Linked DNA regions of Homo sapiens: region 1 is linked to region 2. Evidence: promoter capture Hi-C in 16 types of primary human blood cells and fetal thymus (Javierre and others, 2016). All regions are on one chromosome and are shown on one strand. Each heading gives the region's core, a stretch centred on a gene start or on the middle of the fragment in contact. The rest is flanking DNA. Distances are from core to core; before and after follow the strand shown.

Region 1 (7,681 bases), core at 1,834-4,333, 290 kb before region 2:
AGCCTTTCAAAGGCGAGCCGGCTTTTTCTTTCCACCAATGGAACTCTGTCTGGGCTTTTGAGATTCGGCTTAGTGTACAAGTCAGCCTGGCCTGGGACAAGGAGGGAAAAGCACCCAGAAAGAGCGGACGCAAAGAAGCAAATCCAAGCAGGTGTTTCCAGTGAGTTAAACATGCTCAGAGCAGGACACAATCCATGCAATGAATCAATGCATTTCCATTTTCTCTGACTAGAAGAAGACTGCTCAAGTTCTCCACAGTGGAAAATAAACAGCACACTGCGGCAACTTATCTGTATGATCCAGTCCAAAATCTCCACTTGGCTTTTTTCTTGTCCCTCATTTTACTTTCCTACCGACCTTCGACTGTATCTTCCTAGTTACTACACCCCCATCAGTTAGAAAACACCCAAGTCCAACAGGCGGTCCCACCTGCTGGGTCTAAATAATCCACAGGCCAGAAGCATGTCCTGATCATTCTTTCTTGCCTACGCCTCTCATGCCCCACAACCATGTGGGAAAGGAGAGTTGTGCCAATATAAATAACCCCATCCAGGGAGCTGAAAGACCTGGGTTCTAGTCACAGCTCTTCTGCGGACTTGCTGTGTACCCTTGCAAAAACCACCTCCTATGTTGCCTTTATGTCCTCATTAGTACCTTAAGAGGTTGGCTCACTAGAAGCGTAGGTGCCTTGCGGGACACCCCTTCCACATCTATCTGCTGCCTGTGTTCTGTTTGCTCCTCCCCTGTGCCCTCAACTCATCCCACCCTCTCCCCCAGACCCTGCTAGGAGACTTACCAGACCCTGGCTCCACTGAAAGACTCACTACGTTCTCCAACTGGAATGGGCCACCTGCTAGGCAGTGGATTGAGCAGCGTCCAGCCAGAGAACCTTTTTATAAGAAGTATTCAGGTTCAGGCTCTTGGGAGGGGCCCATTTCCCAACAGACGTGCTCAGCTGACACTCACATCCCAGAGACATTCATCACTCAGGTAGCATTGTAGGTGGTGCATGTGGGCATCTAAGTCACTTCACAGAGGTGCCAGGATTGCTATGGCATGTTTACTTTCCAAACAGGGCACTGTTTGTACCTGGGAGGCTGTGTGTATGCTAAGAGAGGGCATGGGGCTCAAATGCAGGGAGGTCTGGAACCCCTGCCCTTGTCTTCAATACACACACACACACACACACACACACACACACACACACACACAGACGGCTCCACTTGCCCACACATCCATTCCTATGTAGTCATCTACTTGGTAGGTGGTAGTTCACCTATTTTTATCTTGATTCTCATCTCTCTGGCTCTTGGTCCTTGGCTCCCCAGGGCAGACCACAAGCTATGCGATAAGCCTGCTGGGTTTCATCCATATGCTTCAAGATGCAGTGAGTGAAGATGATGACGGGGATGCACCTTTGGGAACCCCAGGGGTGATTTCTCTCTGTCACTGGAGACAGGAAGAAAAACCTAGGCAAAGTTAAGGAACCATAAGACCAGAAAAGTTGTGAATGTAGTCAGGTTGCCATATCCCCATAATACAGCATGGTATGACAAAGAGAAAAATGTGTGCAGGACAGTGGCCCAATTGCAAAAAGGCTAGTCAGCCTGTGGGACTCCTGCTTCTTATCCCACCCCCAACCACCAATCTGCCTTTGAAGATAAGTTCTCCCTAGGGCCACTGCCCAGTGCAAAAGAAAATGGGAAAGGAAGAAGGGAGGGAGGGAAAGAAGAAAAAAAAGAGAAAGAAAGAAAGAAAGTTCTTTCCAAAGGTCCAAAGTGTTCATGATAGATAGTGTTTTCAGAATAACTAATTTTTAAGAATTGGAGGATACTTTGGCAGTCAACTTCAGAACTGCTTCTTAATCAAATTGCCCACAACTGTGAATGTGAACTATAACAGAAGTCCAAGACTAAGAATTCAGGAATTAAGGATGAGAGACAGGTTTGGGGGCGAGTGAGCTGGGAGTGGCTCAAGGGACTAGGCGAGGAAAGATAAGTCACAAAAGATACCAGTTTCATTTAACATGGATTTAGAGCCTGATTAACAGGTTGCCAGTTCCTAGAGCACCTGTTGGTGAGTATAGGTGAGACATTCCAAAAAGTAAAGTCAATATTAGAACAGAGAAGGAAGTAATGAAATAACAAGACAGAGGCAGGATCTCCTCTGGGAAAATGGGCAAAGTTCTTTTAAAAAAAAAAAAAAAGAATGAAGAACGTTTGGTAGGAATCAGTATAAGGAGATAATCTGGGCAAGTGCCTACTCATTCTGTGGGCATCCTATGATCTCATAAACCAGCTTACTTTATTTATCGCTATTAACTCTTATCAAAGGAGGCATCAATTGTTTATCTTTTATATTAAAGGCTGATTTGGAATTAACTTTTCTAGTTATCTTTTCTAGGTACATTATGAGTGTCTCCTGAAGGAACCAGCCCATTCCTAAAGAAATGTTGCTTGGAAAACCCAACACAGGGACCAAAACCCCTGTACTCTTATACCTCTCACTGCACACACACACACACACACACACACACACACACACACGTACGTCCCAACCACATAGAGACAGTCTTTGCAAAGAAGGGTGTCTTTCTCAGTTCTTTACCCAGATTCAAATCCAGGATTTCAGCATGCAGGGAAAATGTGCTCAGACGTTTCATATCTGCCTCCAAAACTCACTCACTGCCCACCCAGCTCTCCCTCTAGCCAACTGATGGAAACACCTGAGCTTATAATAATCAGAAAAGTAAAGAGTGTCCATTTATTAGAGCCCAGGATGAGCACTTCAGGCAATCTTATTCCCCATGAATGGGGACAAGCAATTTTTCAAACTGTGACCCATGCTTGAAGGAAACCCTCTCAGAACCTGAACCTTTTGAGTACAACCATCCTCTTCTCTTCAAACCCATTCCTGGCTCTCCTCATACAATCTTGTGTCTGGCGTAATGGTCTCAGACATTATTCTTTCCTTCAAGCTTAAAGTTCCAGAATCCAGTGCATAGAAGGAAATATTGTTTTCCAGAGGCCTAAGTAGCTTCACTGCCAAAATGTGCTTCCTAAACAAGTTTGTAAAGTGTTCGCTTGCATTTAAGAGAAGGGAAGGGAAGATGGCTTGATGCAGCAGGTAGGGAGTGGGAGAGGCAAACAATGAAATCAGGAGGCAGTGATATCAGGAATAAAAAGCTTTATTGTTACAGAGAAAATAGCTTCATAACTGAATTACAACACCTAGTTCTCCAAAGAGCTATGTCTGAGAGGGAAAGCCAGGCCAGAAAATATCACAAGCTAGACTTCAACCCTACAATGGAGTGAACATGGGCAGGATAAAGAGGGGAACTTAAGGCATTTCCGAAGTCCTTCCATGGGAAATGAGAGAAAAGAAGCCTCAGGCTGACACACATCTTCAGCACCTGGGATCTGCCAGTCCTTCTCCTCCGTGCTCCTCATGGCCCAGGTCAGCAGCAGCCTCCAGAGCTGTGGCAGCAGCCAGAGCCCCCAGAGCTGTGGCAGCAGCTGGAGCCCCCAGACTGCTGGCCACTGCCACTGCCACAGCAGCTGGAACTCTGAGGTCGGCGTCGGAGGGACTGGCGGGGCCTGTGGTGGCTCAGGCAGCAGCCACCACCCTCAGAGCTGCAGCAGCCCCCAGAGCTGGAACCACAGCAGGAAGAGACTGGAGGTGGGCATGGGGCTGAACACTGGGGAGGGCATTTTGGGGGACACTTGGGAGGACACTTAGGAGTACACTTGGGAGGGCATTTAGGGGTACATTTGGGAGGAGGCTGGCACTGCTGCTGGCTCTGCTGGCAGGACATCTCTGTAGAAGCTGAATAAAGCTGAAAGACAATACAAGCCCAAGGTCACTTCCTTGCCCTTAAAATTGAACTATAATTTCACAAGATTTTATCTCTAAGATGACCAGAATTTATTATTATGATTATTATTATTATTTGGGATGGAGTCTCACTCTGTCACTCAGGCTGGAGTGCAGTGGTGCTATCTCGGCTCACTGCAACCTCCACCTCCCGGATTCAAGTGATTCTCCTGCCTCAGACAGGTGTGCACCACCACACCCAGCTAATTTTTGTGTTTTTAGTAGAGACGGGATTTCAGCATGTTGGTCAGTCTCGAACTCCTGACCTCTTGACCCGCCCACCTCAGCCTCCCAAAGTGCTGGGATTACAGGCATGAGCCACTACTCCTGGCCTAAGATGAACCAGATTTTAAAAACCCAGTCTCCCAAGACCAGTAACAAGAATGATACAAATGATTTCCACCTAGTAACTCCATATTTTCAAATGAATAACTTGGAACTTCAGAAAGGCATCAGTCCTTCATTCCTTTTACCTACCTTCCACCCTCCCCTTCCAGAAGAACCTTCCCCTCCAAAATCCTTCTTTATCCTTGTCTTTCTTCAAGAATGGCCTCAACCTCCACCCAGGGGCTCTTTCTGCCCAAAACACCAGCACCAAGAGTTCATCCTGGTCCTGAGAAGCACTCTACCTGGTTCAGGCACTGCAGCAGATCACTCAGGAGACAGGTAGACTGAGGTGCTGTCAGAAGCTTCTGCCTTTTATACAATTCAGTCCTGACCTAGCATCAGGAGGTGCAGACCATGTGCGGGACGCTAGAAGCATCTTTCATAAAGGCATGGGTGACTCCCTCCCCTCGCATCCCAGGGACCCAGTTCCTCCCTGCATAAGCATCTCAAGTATTAACCCACAGGAAGATCCCCTGAGAACTGCAGGCCTCTAGGATGGTGAGGGAGCTCTGTGAATTGCACATGGCACCTATCTATCTCACAGGCAGCTCTGCTATGCCTTCTATTTTCTGAGCTGGGCCAATACGGCTCTACACCTCTGGAATGAACAGAAGTTCTGTTTTCTCTTTGGTATAGGAACTGAAGGAGAAAATTCCCAAGATGGAAATTAAATGGCCCTTTTTAGAATAATAATAGAGATCCAAAATAAAATTGTAGGCCCAAGCAAATAATCTAACATGATTTTTTTTTCATTTCTAGATGATGCCATAACCAGAACAAGGAAGGTTTGATATCTCAGTGATGTTATTTTAGGCAGATCTAATGCTGACAGTGTGGGTGGTTGGGCTTCTCTCCTTGCCTGAATTTGATGCTCCAAAACTGCTCACAAACAGTACCGATTCAGCACTAACAATGCCTTTAAAAGGGCAGAAGTCTAGGAATGGCTTATTTACTCGTGTTAAAGAAGGTGCCCTTGGCCAGCTCGAGGTGAGGCAGCAAAGACCAGGTGTATACTGAGGGTGGAGCAAAAGCTCTCCACTCATCTGGAGGTTTCCAGAAGTGAGGCACCAGTTCTGGTCATTCATAAGAGAAGAGCATCCAACCTGGGAAGGACCTCAGGAGAAGATTAATCTTTGGATGGAGAGGTGAAGAGGAGGAGTATATAGGTTTTAAAAGCCCATGGTGGGATCCAAAACATTTTCTCAGCAAACAATATTCTGAGGGAAAGTTGGGTCCCCAGGATAGTTATCAAAATTGACTTAGCTGGAAAGGGTGGCCAAAATATGGCATATTCACAATGAAAGCTGCAGTGAGAGAAAATAAGACTGGGAGAAAAAGGCAGTACCTTAGCTCCATGCTCTTTGAAATGGGCTGCAGTGAGAAGCATCAGCCCAGTTATAACACAGACCCTGGAGAGGGACATCCAGCATCAGTTCCCACCCTTGCTCTCTCCACCTGTGCAACCTCTGGCAAGTTACTTAACCATCACTGGAAAAGGGGGCTGAAAACATTCCTAATCCACTGAATAAAGAAATACAGATGAAGTTCTTAGCACAGTTCCTAGAACTGCAAGTTTAAAAAAGAAAAAACTAATCACTATGGCTATCCTTATTTCCATGAGAAAATATATGCTAAATTTCAAATTACTGACCTGCCAATTTTGAAACCAAAACTAATTTTTATGATATCAGAACTTAGACTCGATGTTTTCTTACAGCAAAATATTAAGAGTATTTGCTTGTCACTAGGGAATGAGATTATAAAGAAAGCATACTCATTATTTAAAAACACCAAAAAATAGGAAGAATTTTAAAATCACCTATAATCCCATCCCTAAAATATGGTTACTATTTTGCTATTTTCCTTCCCGTCATTTTTTTCTATATATAGTGGTTTTGTTGTTGTTGTTGTTATTTGAGTTTTGTTTGTATTTTACATAGTCTTTCTCATAGTACTTACATGAGTTTACTTTACTAACTTTTCACTTAACATTTTAACATCAACATTTCCCATGTTATTCGTTGTTTGGAAGCATTATTTTTGGTAGCCATAAGAACATTTCATGAAGGGCACAGAATCTATTTATAAGTGGTTGGGAGCGTGAGTTCTTTTTTTTTTTTTTTGAGACTGAGTCTTGCTCTGTCACCCAGGCTCGAGTGCAGTGGTGCGATCGATCTCTGCTCACTGCAAGCTCTGCCACCTGGATACACGCCATTCTTCTGCCTCAGCCTCCCAAGTAGCTGGGACTACAGGCACCTGCCACCACGCACGCCCGGCTAACTTTTTGTATTTTTAGTAGAGACGGGGTTTCACTGTGTTAGCCAGGATGGTCTTGATCTCCTGACCTCGTGATCCACCCACCTCGGCCTCCCAAAGTGCTGGGATTACAAGTGTGAGCCACCGTGCCCGGCTGGGAGCGTGAGTTCTAAATCCAGTCTCTGGGTTTGAATCCCAACTCCCCACTTACCAGTGGTGTGACTTTGAACAAGTGATATGAGCTTTCCACCTCACTGTCCTCGCCTGTGAAATGGTCAAAAAAGTAGTGTTTATCTCATGGGGCCATTAAATTGAGTTAACATACCTAAAACTCTTGTAAAAGTGCCCGGCATATAGTAAGCATTCAATAAATGTTTAAAATGAAAACTGATGCTGTGTCACTTCTAAATTCCAGCACTCAGGGCAGGCCTAGATAAAGACCACAGGGTTGGGGCGTCGGATCTGTCTCTGCCCTCCTTGTGGAGAAGTATAAGCAAGAAGGTAGAACACAGGCTCTGAATTTCTGGAAAGGGAATCCCAGTAAAATTAAAGGAATTACCCATTTAAAACATGGGTTTGGTGAATTCTAAAAGGAACAATGTCCATCCCCTTTTAGTTATAATTGTTTGGGCACACGACCCACCTATCTGACCACATGGTAAGGTCTTTAGTGCAGGAATCCCTAAGGGGTCTAATTTAGTGCCTTGTAGGCAGCAGGTGCTCAGTTTTCATTTCCTTGTTCAGTTGAATTTACTATTCAGCAAGCAAGATGAATGCCTCAAACAAATCCAAACCCAGATTTTCATTAACAAATTCTAGACATTTCATGGGATGATAGAATAGTTGTGGAAAGGACCTTGGCCATCATTCAGAGCCGGTGGTTCTCAACCCCGGTGAGATCTAGGCTTTGACATTCTCCAGACGTCCATCAAGTGGCTCTGCTGCACCACTGGGATTGATAATTGCTGATTTAGATCATGCCCCTTGTTTGACAGAAAAGGAACCTGAGACTTAGAGATGGAAAAAGGCTTTCCCTGGATCACATGGAGAGTTGGGAGCAGAGATGGAATTCAAAACCTGCTATCTGCCCTCTCTCCATCATAGCACTCTGCCTCTTGAATAGTATTTTATTTCTTACTGTGATTTTTTCCAGCAAGATTTATTT
Region 2 (6,946 bases), core at 3,293-5,792:
AGAGTGGTGAAAGATGAGGCCAGAAAGGAAACAGAGGTCTGATCAGTTTGCTACTCATTACATTCATACTACAATGCCTCACTCTCCCTTCTCTATCTGCTATCCCACCACTATCCCCTGCCACACACACATGCACGCACGCACGCACGCATGCACATCGAAAGGCAAATGTTCTGGATTTGATTTCCAACAATCAAGGTCCTTATATCTCAGCTTTTTTTTTTTTTTTTTTGGTACCATTTCTAACACTTGAAGTGTTTGTGAGAATCGCTTCCAGTCACTCTTCTCCATTTGTCCACTTTAATGGACCAGGTCTGCATGCTGAATGTTTCAGGTAGTAGGAACTAAGGGATAGAGACTATGAATACCAAGCCAGTAAGAGCATCAAACATCAAGATAAGAACACACAGCCTAAGTAACACAGTGAGACCTCATCTCTACAAAAAAATATAAAAATTAGACAGATGCAGTGGCATACACCTATAATCTCAGCTACTCGGGAAGCTAAAGTGGGAGGATCACTTGGGCCCTGGAGTTGGAAGCTGCAGTGAGCCATGGTTGCACCACTGCACTTTAGCCTGGGCAACAGTGAGACCCAAAAAAAAAAACTATATATATATTTTTTTCTCATATATATATATATATATATATATATATATATATATATATTAGAGAAAGATACTGATGGAATAAATAAAAGGATACATGTATGAATGAGCTCTGGATTCCCAGCATTTGAAGCATTTTGGAGTTCTCGGAAGAGAAAATGGAGGATATTAAGGGAGAAAGAAACAACTCAATAGGCAGACCAGTACTGAAGCAGAATATATTCCAGGGTGTGGGTCTGAAGCTGAAAGATATGTCACCATGCCTGTCTCATCCCCAGGGAATATATACTAAGCTGTAAAATTATATCGAATCCATTTTTTATTTTTTGAGATAACAGTAAAAAGGACTCAAAAGAGGATATAGAAGGAAGCACTATTTAACCAGTTTCATATTATAGCTAACTTCTTTTGATTCCATTTACCCAAAATCATGACCATCAACCTTCTCTTATATACATACCCCTATTTTTTACATAGTCTCCTCATTTATAGAGACTAGGCTACAAAGAACTATAGAAATTCCATGAAATAATTTCTGTAAGGAAAAAGGGCAGAAAAGGCAATGAAGAAAAGATCTGCTTTAGAATTTCCCTATGACCCAGCAGATGGTGCAATAGGCACATTACTCTGCCTTCCAGACAGGCAGAAAAAAATGAGTGCACACAGATGGTACTGGAACTTCACTGTTTATCCTTGCTAGTTTTGTTTGTTTGTTTTTCCTAGGTGAAACACTCCATTCCTGAAGAACTGTTTCCAAAACCCTTCCTTTACCAAGACATGAATATTTCCCTACTTGCTGACTATTCCTAGGAAAAAGCAGATTTGAATTTGAATTCTGTCTTCTCCACTTAACAGCTAAGTGACTTGAAACAAGTTACAGATTTCATCTGAGCCTCAGTTTTCTCATCTGCAAAATGGAAATATAATATCTAGATAACAGGGTTGTTGTAAGAATTAATGAAACAATGTACACCCACACACAAAGCACTGTGCTTGTCATAAAAAGGAATGTAATTTTCATTCTTCTGCCAACACACAGAGAAAGGCACTCAAAAACCTAGAACATGGCACATACCATAGAAAAGCTTTTCTCCTGAAACCTATCATCTCCAAGTGGAAAAACCACTAACCAAACCCATGATGGAGGAATCTTCATGTCCAACTCTGTTACTATGGAGCACACACTCTAAAAAAAACAAGAAACTGTTTTGAAAGTGACTTTTGTGATAATCTAGTCCTACTCTTAATAAGTAATTCTCAATGGGGAGAGAAGAGACCAAGACGCATATGTAATATGCTTCTTATTTTCATGATACAAACGAGGAAAAAAAGCCCAACAAAATTCTAGTTGGTGAGCATATCCAGAAAACAACGTAATGAAAGAATTAATTTTTTCTTTAATAGTAAAAAACTATTCATATGATACTTGACAATAAATTCAGTTACTTCACAAAGAGCTCACTGCATTTTCAGTCAATGCAAATATTAAATATTTCTCCCTTACATCAAATCAAAATTTATCTCCCTTTTACGAGCAGCCAAAGGTCCCTTGTTCTGTTCCCTTTCCCCACCACCCCACACATGCTGATATTTACAAATTCACCTTCACTCTTGTTCTCTCATGCAAGAGTTAGTGGTTCTGATGTCCCACACTTTTCAGCCCTTCTTTTCTCTCAGATCCTCCTCTCCCAGAGAATCTTCCTGAAAAGCAAATACAGAAGAGGAGCAAAGAGTGGTAAACTACAGCCTGCAGTTCATAGCTAGCTTGTCATCCATTTTTGTGTAGCCTACAGGATAAAAAGGTTTTCTACATTTGTAAGCGGTTGAAAAAATATATGATATGTGAAATTATATGACATTCAAAGATCAGTATTGATAAATAAGTTTTACTGAAACATAGCCATGCTCATTTGTTTACATATCATCTATGGCTGCTTTTATGCTACAATAGCAGAGTTGAGTAGTTGCAACAAAAACTATCTGTCCTGCAGAGATAATATTTTGTACCATCTGGCCCTTTACAAAAAAAAAAGTTTGCTGGCCCCTATTTCAGGAGAACACTAGCCCCAAGAGCACGTTCACCTGGAATAGTCTTCTCTCACAACCCTCTCCTCCCTTCGTGACAACAGCTGGTTCCTGCAGGAAATCAGTCTTCACTCAGCAAATTCCACCCCCCTTTACTCCCACAGTCTCAGCCACACCTTTAAAAAGTCATTGTTCTGATGAAGCATGAAAACCTGGCCCAATCAGATGTCCAGAGGAAACACGGCTACAGAATGGATACTGACTCTGCAGCCCTCTGGGCAATTCTTAAAAGAAAACACATAGCCTAACAATAGTTGAATTTGGAATCATGTAATTTATCACTTGCCAACAGTTGCTACCACACCTTCTCAAATCCTGATGACCATATTGCACAAGTTTTAAGTCCATGTAACTTCACACACCTTCAGTGAAATTTGTGTTATATGTTCACAATGGAAGAAATGCAGAGCGAGGGCCTCAGAAAAAAGCAGAAAGCCACTCATTGATTCTCAATGCTAAGATTCCGTTTATATTCAGGTAAAATCATGTCCTCTGAGGCAAAGATGGCAAGAGAGAGGGCAGACCCTAGTCCTCCTGTGAAAAGATGGAAGTTGGCCAATGCAGAGGACTATAGTCTTGATCCTTGCTTCTCTTTCAAATGAATTCAAACTGACATTTATTGGAGACCGTTATGTGACAAGCAGTATACTAGGTCTCCAAATGACATAAGGATAAATAATGTCCATTCCTTATTCTCAAGGAGCTCATAGCCTAGAAATGAAATAAGCCCATAGACAAATGTGTGTGTCTGTGTGTGAATGTGTGTGTTTGTGAAAGGCAAGGATATACAACAAATAACTAACAGTAGTTATTTTTGGCTAGTGGCTTTAAAGGTATTTTGATTTTATCTTATTTGCTTATCAATATTTTCTAATTTTTATATTAAACAATAATTGTATAGTAAAACAATTTTTAAAGATTACAATATAGTATGATTGATACAACAATAAATATGAATAAGGTACACAATTACAACTCCCTCTTGAGTAATTCAGGAAAGATTTTCTATGGGAAGCCTAAATTGGATTTTGAAGAATAATTAGTTCACTAGGCAGACAATGAGGAAAGACATTCTAAGAAAAAATATGAAATAACATATCCCATGGTATATTGAGGAAGTTTGAAATATTACTAGTTAATTACTGTTGGAGTACAAAGAGAAATATGGAGGGGAGAAATGGAGCTGGAAAAAAGCCACAGCCCAGATCATGAGGAACCATGGATACCATGCTAACAAGCACGCATTTCTTCCTAAGGTTATATGGTGTTTGAAATGAAAGCTATGGTGATGAATGGCCAATAAGGGGTCTGGTAAATTGAGGTACTTAATGAGTTAAAGGATGGCCTGGAGCCATTATCCAATTCAAAAGGTAATAACAATACCAAAGATGACACTTTGGCTGGAATACCATTTAAGAACATTTAGCTTAGAATGGGAGAGTTTGACTAGATGATCTTTACAGTCCTTTTAATCATCAATTTCCATGATTTTTTGACATTTGGGCCATGATGTCCCTGCACACACTCCATTCAACTTCTATTAAAATCCACACAATTTGTTGTCAATATATTGTGCTAGATAGTTTGATGAATACAAAAACAGGCCTTTCTGCAGTGTCCTGACCCTTTGGCAGGTGGGGCTGAGAGTAGCCCAGATTTGGGAACTGCTAATGCAATCTTAGGTGAACCTGTAAGGAAGTCAGGAAGAAGGTAAACACCTGGGAGGTGGAGATAGAGGTGGAGATGGGCTTGTTTAGGAGTAAATTAGGACATCTCAAAATTAGCAACTCCTCCCTAAGAGGGACCATTATTCCCTCTATAAAAAGGCCACTCTGCCCAACTCGCAGCACCCTGAAAGCTGTTTCTGTCTCTACCCTACTTGTTCCTCTGGTGAGCTAGGTAAGTGAGCAGTTCAACTCCGCTCAAGGGTACTTAGGGCTATAAATTATGAAAGTCCAGGATGTGCTCTAAGGCAAAGAGGCACTAGATACAAGGCTTCTTTTTAGTATACTCTGGGGAACTTTGGTATAAGTTTAAATTTACTGAAAAGAAAAATGAAACAAAGACTAGGACTATGTATATTATCTCCTTTCTTTGAGGTCGCTTCCCTTATAACATGGATATCATGGGGTTCTAATTATCCACAGGCAGGTTGCCTTCTTTACAACTGAGCTTTTCCTCTCTATTGTGTAATAAGGTCTGAGGGTCACTTCCTGCTTGGAGAATGAGAACAGAAGCTGGATCTAATAGCAGTTACCCTTAGCTTCATATCACCTAGGCTTGTTGGCTTTGCTCACATTGTCTATTTTCTCTGACCTAGAAGTCTTGAGAGTTCAGTTCAGCCATTGATGCTCCTTAGGTTGAGTAAGGCATGTCATGTAGATGATGGACCTATGCCCACAGTATGCTTCGAACCTAGAAAGAGGAAGCAGATGAAGTGGAACACTCAGGACTTCTACAGCTCCAGAACAAAGCTAATATTATCCCTGGTAATGGCAGGAAGCCAAAAACAGAAAGTCATTTTTCCTACATTCATTCAGGAATGGAAATAAGACCTATGGATTATATTCCTAATTTCATCACTCTCTTGCTACATGGCTTGAACAAGTCATTCAACTCTGAATTGGTTCTTGATTACAACAGAATGAATTTAATCATGACTGACTAATTCTGAACAATTATTATAAATAATTAGAACTATTTATGTGTTTAAACAAGAAATAAGAATAGTAAGGGGTTGGTCTCTCTTTTTCCTCCCTTTAGGTTACTCAAACTTGCAAAAAAAAAAATGCCTAAACTCCTACAAGGCGTCATCACTGTCATCGATGTTTTCTACCAATATGCCACCCAGCATGGGGAGTATGATACGTTGAACAAGGCAGAGCTGAAAGAACTTCTGGAAAATGAGTTTCATCAAATTCTGAAGGTAAGAACTCCACGCCAGGATGGAGTTATGCAGGAATTTTCTTCTTTATCCCTTTCCACCTTCTTGTCACATATGTCAAACATCCTAGAGGATTGTCCTTACTTGGTGAGAGAGAACAGGGTTTGGTAAAAGTTTGAGATAAGGTCAAAAGCAGATCCGTGATGGTTTCCATAGCATAACTAACGGAAGTGACCTTACTAAACAACAAACAAAACCCACAGGTTAAATAATGTCCTATCTAAGTGACTAATTCCTACAAACCCAGACAGTCCTCAGAAAAACTGTGAAGTAGATTTCTGAGTTCAGGAAATTGGCATTTACTCCTGAATCACAAAAGAATGTGTCCACCACCTTAAAACTGTCAGGTCTAGATTTGATAGCTTAGATATTTGGGACCTTATATCAGACTCCTGAGTTTCAATTCCTTAAATTTGGATTTCTGTGGATTTCAGATATGATATTCAGATATCAGATGTCAGATATTCAGTGTGTCAGCTATGAATCTCATAATCTTCCCCACTAACCTTTTTCCTTCATCTTTTTGCCCAAAGCAAAAACCTGGTGTCATTTTTTATTGTCTCTCTCTCAGCAGACACCACTACCTTCTAACCTCCATCTAACTCATCAATAATCTCTCAAAACAACCCATTTCTCTTCATCACTATTATTAGTCCTCTGGTTCAGGCCACCTACTACTTCTACTCTCAGCATTGGATGCAAATATAATCATTTCACTCCTCAGCTAAAAATCCTTCAATAGTTCCCAATTGCTCTTAAAATGAAGTACAAAGTTCCTTAACATAACTTAAAAGTCATAATCTAGTCCCTATTTGTCTCTCTATCCACATTTCTTGACTCTTCAAACTCTAAATCTAGCAATCCTGAATTTCCTTCAGTTCCTTGAATGCTCCATAACTTCTCTCACCTCTAGCCCTTTGTTCATATAATTCCCTCTGCCTAGAACAATCTTTTCCCCTTCTCTTTCTCTTCCTACTTCTTCATTTGGCTAATCCTAATCCATCCTTCAAAAGGCATCATTTCCTCTCATTAACCTTTCTAGGACCCCCAATGTTTCCTCTCTGATGTACTCTTGTAGAAACCTTACCACAATAAATTATAATTTTAAGTTTGTATATCTGGCCAACTAAACTTTAAATTCCATTTTTTTTCAGGAAGCAAACTTGTTCACTTCTTTATACTCTCATATGACATAATGGTAGGCAACTAGTAAAATAATAAATCTTTGTTCAGTGAGTAAATTAAGTAGCTAGTTAATTTAATTGGATAAATAAAGTTGATATAATTAATGTAGGTATAAAAACATATT

What was found. The method cuts DNA at HindIII sites, captures the fragments that hold promoters and counts their contacts. A CHiCAGO score of 5 or more calls a contact.
Region 1: a fragment that was not itself captured here is called in contact with the fragment with the promoter of HRNR in region 2 in 2 of 17 cell types (total CD8 T cells and naive CD4 T cells); the score reaches 6.2 in total CD8 T cells.

Annotation. Positions count from the first base shown.
Region 1 is chr1:152,507,668-152,515,348 of GRCh38, reverse strand. LCE5A (late cornified envelope 5A) reads right to left here and starts at 4,546. Exons shown (of 2, transcript NM_178438.5): 1 at 4,351-4,546; 2 at 3,172-3,835. The coding sequence starts at 3,814. The coding sequence ends at 3,458. It overlaps CRCT1 (cysteine rich C-terminal 1), which reads right to left and starts at 867. Exons shown (of 2, transcript NM_019060.3): 1 at 797-867. The HindIII fragment of the contact is 208 bases long and covers 2,980-3,187 here.
Region 2 is chr1:152,221,789-152,228,734 of GRCh38, reverse strand. HRNR (hornerin) reads left to right here and starts at 4,542. Exons shown (of 3, transcript NM_001009931.3): 1 at 4,542-4,592; 2 at 5,457-5,619. The coding sequence starts at 5,482. All of the region lies in intron 1 of CCDST (cervical cancer associated DHX9 suppressive transcript), which reads right to left. The HindIII fragment of the contact is 14,241 bases long and covers 1,696-6,946 here.